2 separate regions of the Homo sapiens genome follow, and region 1 is linked to region 2. Evidence: promoter capture Hi-C in human tissues and cell types (Jung and others, 2019). All regions are on one chromosome and are shown on one strand. The core of a region is centred on a gene start or on the middle of the fragment in contact, and the rest is flanking DNA. Distances in the headings are between cores, read along the strand shown.

The links. The method cuts DNA at HindIII sites, captures the fragments that hold promoters and counts their contacts. A contact is called where the count stands out against the background at its distance.
Region 1: a fragment that was not itself captured here is called in contact with the fragment with the promoter of TFF3 in region 2 in 1 of the 25 tissues and cell types used here (lymphoblastoid cells).

Annotation. Positions count from the first base shown.
Region 1 is chr21:42,278,093-42,281,657 of GRCh38, forward strand. All of the region lies in intron 5 of ABCG1 (ATP binding cassette subfamily G member 1), which reads left to right. Among named protein-coding and RNA genes, the nearest start is that of TFF3, 36 kb to the right of the region's middle. The HindIII fragment of the contact is 7,808 bases long and covers 1-3,565 here.
Region 2 is chr21:42,314,006-42,317,474 of GRCh38, forward strand. It overlaps TFF3 (trefoil factor 3), which reads right to left and starts at 1,404. Exons shown (of 3, transcript NM_003226.4): 1 at 1,288-1,404. The coding sequence starts at 1,369. RefSeq lists enhancers at 2,504-3,123, 3,124-3,469. The HindIII fragment of the contact is 18,141 bases long and covers 1-3,469 here.

The sequences.
Region 1 (3,565 bases), core at 571-3,070, 35 kb before region 2:
TCTGTGTGGAATTCTTTTATTCTGAGATTGAAAAGAAAATGGATGAGTGGAAACCAAAAGAGAGAAAATGTGGAAATCACATGTGTTCCTGGCCCTTCATGGGGGCAGAAGACCCAGCCTTGTGAGTTTATTGTCTAGGCTGAAAGGCGAGAGCCCCCTCTGGATAGTGTTTTCTAAACAATGTAACGTAGACACCCCCCCACAACACACACACCACCTCCCAAGCCCGAGAATGTTACTTATACCAAGTTATGGAAGATGAGTGTTATGGCCTGAATTCCCCCCAAAAGATGATATGTTAAAGCCTACACCCCAGAAACCCAGAAATGGCTGTATTTGAAGATCGGGTCTTTACAGAAGTAATGAAGTTAAAATGGGGTCATATGGGTGGGCCTCAGTCCAGTCTAACTGTGTCCCTGTAAGAAGAGGAGAGGAGGACCCAGACACACCAAGGGATGGCCCCGTGAGGACACAGGGAGGAGGCGGCATCTGCCAGCCCAGGAGAGGGGCCTCAGGAACCAACCCTGCTGCCCTCGATCTCAGACTTTGGCCTCCAGAATTGAGGCGGGAGTTTCTGTTGTGGAAACCAGCCAGTGTGGGGGACTTCGTTACAGCAGTGAACGTAACAAACGAGAGCCTTAGTTCCAGGCACACAGAAGAACATGGAGAAAAGCAGGTGTCAGAGCTGAGTCTCGGCGAAGTCTCCCATGGGAGATGAACCCAAATCAACAGAACGGGGCCCTGGGATTGAGCCAGGGCGACCTTCACTCTCCCTGTCTGAGGTCAGTTTTGCCACCCCCCAGTCCTGGGCCCTCCTTGCCATCAGCTACAGGACAAGAGGAGAGGCCGGCAAGAGTGTGCAGGGCCCCCATGAAGCAGAGGCTTTTCCACCCGGAGACTCAAGAAGCTGCTCCTCCCGAAGCCTGGATGCAGTGCCCCTGGATCCGCCTTTCAGGGCCCTCCTTCCCATCCCCCGGCCTCCCTGCTTTCATGGGGTGTCGGAAGCACAATCCAATCTCTTTGTCTCGGATAGCCCTCCATCGAGGTCCCAAAGACCCCTCCAGATGCTGGCCTGCAAGCTGAGGGGCGGCTGTGGGGGCTCCAAGGAGAGACGGTGGAAGTGGTCACTGATGCTCGGCGTGGAGGAGGAGCCAAGAGCTCTGGAGAGGGAGGCGCTGGAGAGAGGGAATTCTGTCTCTCTGACCCAAAATAAGGCCCAAGGACAGAGCAAACGGTGGAGAGGGTCTCGGGGATCACCGGAGGCCGGGGGAGCAGACGCAGGAGGCGGAGGGCGGAGAGACTTGCTAACACGGAGAGGCCCTGTGGTGAAGTAGAGCTGAGCACACGGGGGAGCCCTCCATCCTGGCCTCCTGGAACCCACCGGATGGCCTTGGGCCACTGCCTGCTGTGCCCCGAGCCGAGCTTCACCTGTAACGTGGGGACAGGAAGCCAGGCCCCACCTGCCTTTTGGGGCAGTGCAACCTGAACTGGATGGTTTCTTTAAGGTCTCTGAGCTCGATGGAGCCCATGTGATCCATATGGGAGGGGCTGTGGGATTGCTTCCCTGCAGCATAAGGCGACAGCCACCAGCCTTTTCCGGGGTAGCTGGTGAAAGTCGCTCTCCCCATGGGCTGGGCGCACAGTGAGTGCTGCTCAGCAGGCTCCGTGCTGAAGTCACAGCAAGCCAGGCCCTTGGCCTGCCGGAGCTGGAAGACCCAGAACAAGCTGGCATCTTGGTGGAGAATGGAGGCGCCTCCCAGGAGTAGCTACACGGGACCCGAAGGCAGATGGCACCCATAGGTGTGTGTCCTCGTGGTGCCTGGGCCCTGCCTAAGACACGGCCCGGATGAGAGCCTCCAGCTATTTTCAACTGGGTTTACAAGGGCAAAAATATCAGCTCATGTGGCTGAATCATCCCTGAGGGGTGAGCCCCTGGCGCCGTCCTCAGATTCCTCTTCGGCTGGATTGAACAATGCAGAGAGCCCTCCCCACAGGACCTGGAGGCCACGCTGCGTCCTGCACATGCTCCTCACCAGCAGACCCAGCTGTTCCTCAGCCATGGCACAGGTGCATGCCTCGCCATCGGGCCCACCATCAGGATTGCTTCAGGAGAACAGGGCAGCAACTTTGTGCCTTCACTCACTTCCCTCCAACCCCCGATGTGCACCTAGGTCAAAGTTCTCTCTCTGTCTCATGGAAACACAATGGGATGGAATGTTCTAGAAGATCATGGAATTTTTGCTGTGTTGTTCACGGCCTTCCTTAATTCCCAGCAAAGCAGCCTCAGCCCTCCAGAGCCCTCCAGCAAGGCCACTTCCTCAGGAGTGAGGTCTCCAGGGGCAGCCTGGGCTGCCGAGATCCTCCCTGGAGCGCCCGCCGGGAAGCCCCAGGGGGGCTGGAGCTACAAGTGGCCTTGCAGGTTTTTTGTTTGTTTGTTTAGGGAAAATGTATAAATAACTGAGATCATTGTTTGTTCTTTCTGACTAGTCTTTAAAACAGAACCCTTCTGGGTGGCATCACTCCTGAGCGGACACTGGAGAAAGTGGGGTGGGCCCAGCTCATGGGCAGGGGTGCGGAGGGAAAGGCACCCACAGCGGCCTCCGCTTCCAGCATCCCCTCCGTGAGGGTGGAGGGAGAGAAGAAGATGTGCCGCATGTGTGGGGCCCCCACAGTGAGCCTGGAAGCACCAGAGCCACTCAGTCGGCCAAGAGCGTCGCCCAGTGGTTCCAGAAGATCTGGAGGCCTCGTCCTGGGAAGACCAGCAGTCGATGCCAGCTGGGAAGAGGGCTCTGCCCACCTTGCACGCCCCCCACCCACCAGCCTTTTCCAGACAGCCTTCCAGAAGCTGTTTCTGGGTTGGCGGCCCTCAGAGCCAGGCATCCAGCAGAGGCACCAGGGCTGGGGTGAGGGCATCAGCAAGGAGGTTCAGGACAGGGCTGGAGCCCAGGTCGGCTGACCCTGTACTGCCACCTGCCCTGGCCTGTCCAGCAGCCGTGCCCCGGTTCTTTCTGTCACCAAAGCTGCACTTTGTACCGACTGTGCATAAATAATTCAGAAGCTCAGAGTGGAAATTTTCTTCCTCGTGAGTTCTTCCTCCCTTCAGATGACTTCATCTCCCTAGAGGAGCCGCTGGAGTAGGGTCCGCTTGCTATGGCTCCCAGGGGCCGGCCACCACAGGGCTGCCCTGGCAGGGTGGGGACAATAGCTGGGTGAATGCTGGAGGGAGCTCCAGGTGGGCTGTCCCCAGGGTAGGGAGGCAGGGATGGCAGTGGCTGACCCAGGGCCTGCTTCTGAGATGATGCTGGGGCTGAAAGCAGCACCAAGCCAGCACAGAAATCTGCTGACCTTCGTGTTCCCTGAGTCGATACAGGATCAATAATCCGGAGCAGACAGGGAGGGCTCCGTGCGCAGTGCCCTGCTTGTTCCTGGCGTGCAGCCTGCTTCCCAGAGCCTGTGCCGTGGTGTGGCTACCGTGGGTCATGACTGCTTTGAGGGGTACTGCAGATCTGTTTCGTTGCCTTCCTGGCACCTCAGAGACCTTGCTTTCAAGTCAAACCTATTTACA
Region 2 (3,469 bases), core at 154-2,653:
CCTTTGTTTTAAATGAAAACCGTGACAGGAGAGGCACACGCCATAGAGATCATTGCAACGCATGCTGCCTGCTTTTCACTTTTTTCTGCATCTCCCCTTCCTGAATTGTTGAGCATGTCCCACCCTCCCGGGACATCCTTCAGTCCCCAATATTTTCATGTTTCAGGCAAGCCTCTATGTCTGTATGTGCAGCAGAAGTTCACTGCGTTTCATTAACGAACTGAGTATTTCCTTAGGAAAATGGCAATCACGTGCAGTGTCTTACATTCCCTTCTCTTGCTCCCAGTCCGTAATTGCTTATCCTCCTGGCATCCAAACTTCGCTCACACTGGAATCAGCTGCAGAGCTTTAAAAATGACTGACGTTGGCTGGGCATGGTGGCTTACACCTGTAATTCCAGCACTTTGGGAGGCCAAGGCAGGAGGATCACTTGAGGCCAGGAGTTTGAGACCAGCTTGGCCAACATAGCGAAACTCCATCTCTACTAAAAATCCAAAAAATTAGCTGGGCATGGTGGTGCATGCCTGTAATCCCAGCTACTTGAAGCCGAGGCACAAGAATTGCTTGAACCCAGGAGGCGGAGGTTGCAGTGAGCTGAGATTGTGCCACTGCACTCCAGCAGTGAGTGACAAAGCAAGGCTATCTCAAAACAAAACAGCTGAGGCCTGGATCTTGCCTGGAGATGCCCTGATGTAACTGGTGTGCCCCAAGCATTAGGATTTTTAAAGCTCTCCAGGTGATTCTAATGGGCTGCAAGTTCGGGAACCACTGCCTTTGACCCTGCTCAGAAGACACCCAGATAAAAGCCATGCCCTCATTCCTTCAAACTTGGGTTAATGGAGCAGCCACACCCCATGGCAGGGTTGCTATGCAATGGCTAAATGAACCTTGTGCCTGCCGGTATTGACAGTGTTCTGAAGTCAGGGTTTTTCTCCTGCATCTTTCCTTTTTCTTTGTAAATGTGGAACAATGCATAAAGACCTATATTGTAATTTAGAAATCTCCAGCAAAGATGGCTATGGGGTCATAGGGGATGGGCTCAGGCTCAAACCCTGATTTCAACACAGACTGGGCAGGGCTGCCTTGGATAAGTTGTTAACTTTCTCTGAGCCTCGGTTTCCTTGTCTGTGAAATGGGGACAATAAAGACCCACTTCAAAGGGCTAGCGCAGGAAAAAGTGTATATGTGACAGGTGGCCATTATTAAATGAATGCAGAATCCCCCCTTATCCTGGATCCCTTCCCTTCACGCCCACCCTGCCACCGGGGCAGTCAGGGCAGTACTCACACAGGCCCACGTACTCCTCAGCAGAGCTGGAGGACAGCAAGGCCAGGACCAGCCCCAGCATGCAGAGCGCTCTGGCAGCCATGACCACCGTGGGCTCCGGGACGCAGCTCAGGACTCGCTTCATGGTCCAGGAGGCCTCATTTATGCACCGTTGTTTGCACAGCTGCTCTGGATTGTTTGCTTGGGGAAGGCTCTCCCTCCTGGCTGTGGCTGCTCCTGTTCTCTCCTGCATGCCTTTGTCAAGCTCCCAGACAGTTTTTCTCTCCCAAAGGGGAGAGGTCAGTTCAGCCCCCACTGTTTTGGCAGCAAGCGGTAAGGGCGGATTCCAGTTCTGGTTCCGGGTCCTCTACTGGGGAGCGGATGTGTGTCAATTGCCCTCCTAGCCTGGCCTGGTGTAGTGTGCAGGAGCCATGTGGGGTGGCAGGACCAGGGTGTGGTGTCCGTTCCATCTCAGCCTCCCAGCCAGAAGCCCTCAGAACACCCCTGGTCCCATGACAAGAGAGCCCCAGGCTGCTTCATCCCAGATCGGCCTCGGAGACAGGCAGCTCTGAGTGAGTCAGGACCCTGCGGCTCTCTCACAACTCCTGAAACACAGAGATTCCTTGTCTTTCCTTTTTGCTTTCTCCCCTAAAAATTAGTAACTACATTTTAATAAGTGGATGAAATGAATTGATTGAAAATATGTTAGTAAAAACATGGTACACATAATTGATTTTTAAAATCAAATAATACAAAAGAGCCTTTCCTATCCAGAGGCATCTATTGATCTATTGTGAACACTTTTTTAGGTATCCTTTCAGAATTTTTCTCTCTGGATCTAAGCACGTTTTTTTGGTTTGTTTTTGTTTGTTTGTTTGTTTTGTTTTTTTTTTGTTTTTTTTTTGTTTTTTTTTTTTGGAGACAGGGTCTTGCTCTGTTACCCAGGCTGGAGTGCAGTGGCACAATCTCAACTCACTGAGACCCCCGCCCTCGCGGGGCTCAAGTGATCCTCCCACCTCAGCCTCCTAAGTAGCTGGGCCACAGGCATGTGTCCAGCTAATATTTTGTATTTTTTTAGAGACCAGGTGTCGCCATGTTGGCCAGGCTGGTCTCAGACTCCTGGACTCAAGTGATCTGCCTTCCTTGGCCTCCCAAAGTGTCAGGATTACAGGCATGAGCCACTGCACTCGGCCACATTTTTAACACAAACAGGAACTGACTCTCCACCTTTGCCCAGCGTGCTCTTTTAAAAACTAAAGACTACATCTCAGGAATTGTTTTATAACAACATATCAGATGAGACAGCGATGATTCTATCCATTTTCCAGAGGAAGAAACTAAGACTCAACATTTCCGGTGCCTATCAGAGGTTACTCCAGTGTCCCTGGTATAGCTGGTATTTAACCCACTCCCAGGACCCTAAGCCTCCGCCCTCGGCATCCGCAGCATCCCCCAACCCCCCAACCTCCTGCAGTGGACTGGCTGGTAGTGGGCAAGAGACTAATCTCATTCCAGGAAAACGGGCCCCTAGATTTTGTGTTCTCCGTGTTTCTTTTCCAGGGAGGCATTTTGATGACCCCCACTGGCCCTTCCAGGAGCCTCTGTCTGAAGGGTGGACTTGGTTTATCACCCCGAGAAATGGGAGCGCCTGGCTGCTTGGATTTAGCCTGCAGCTGGGGTCCCCGGTGGTGTGTGCAGGGCGGCCTTGAGCCTCCAAGGGTGCATCCACAAACTGCCCTTCCCCGAGTGACCCATGGGAGCTCGATGGCGTACGTGCTGAGCACCAGGATGTGTCCTGCCCTGTGACTCCCAGGCCCCGCCCTTGCGCTCAGCACGCCCTTTGTGGATGGATTTGAGGGCCCCTGGCCTCTGATGTGCCACTCCCGCTGAGGCCAGCGAAGGAGGAAGAAGGAAAGAGCGTTGCCTGCCTTGTTTTCGGGGCACTCACTTTTTCTGGGAGACAGCGGACCCAGGTTCATCAATGGACAGCAGGATTTTCATGTTATTAAAAAGGTCATTGTAGGGGAAATCCCTGGGGGATCTGGTGAGATCTCCCTGGGGGATCTGGTGAGATCTCCCTGCCTTCCCACTGCTCCTAGTACCCAGAGGCCAGGCCAGGTCGTGGTGCAGGGCTGAGTTCCAGGAGGGTGCAAACACCCCAGGAACAGACTGCTGCCCCTCCGGCCCTCATGACCTGCTGGGG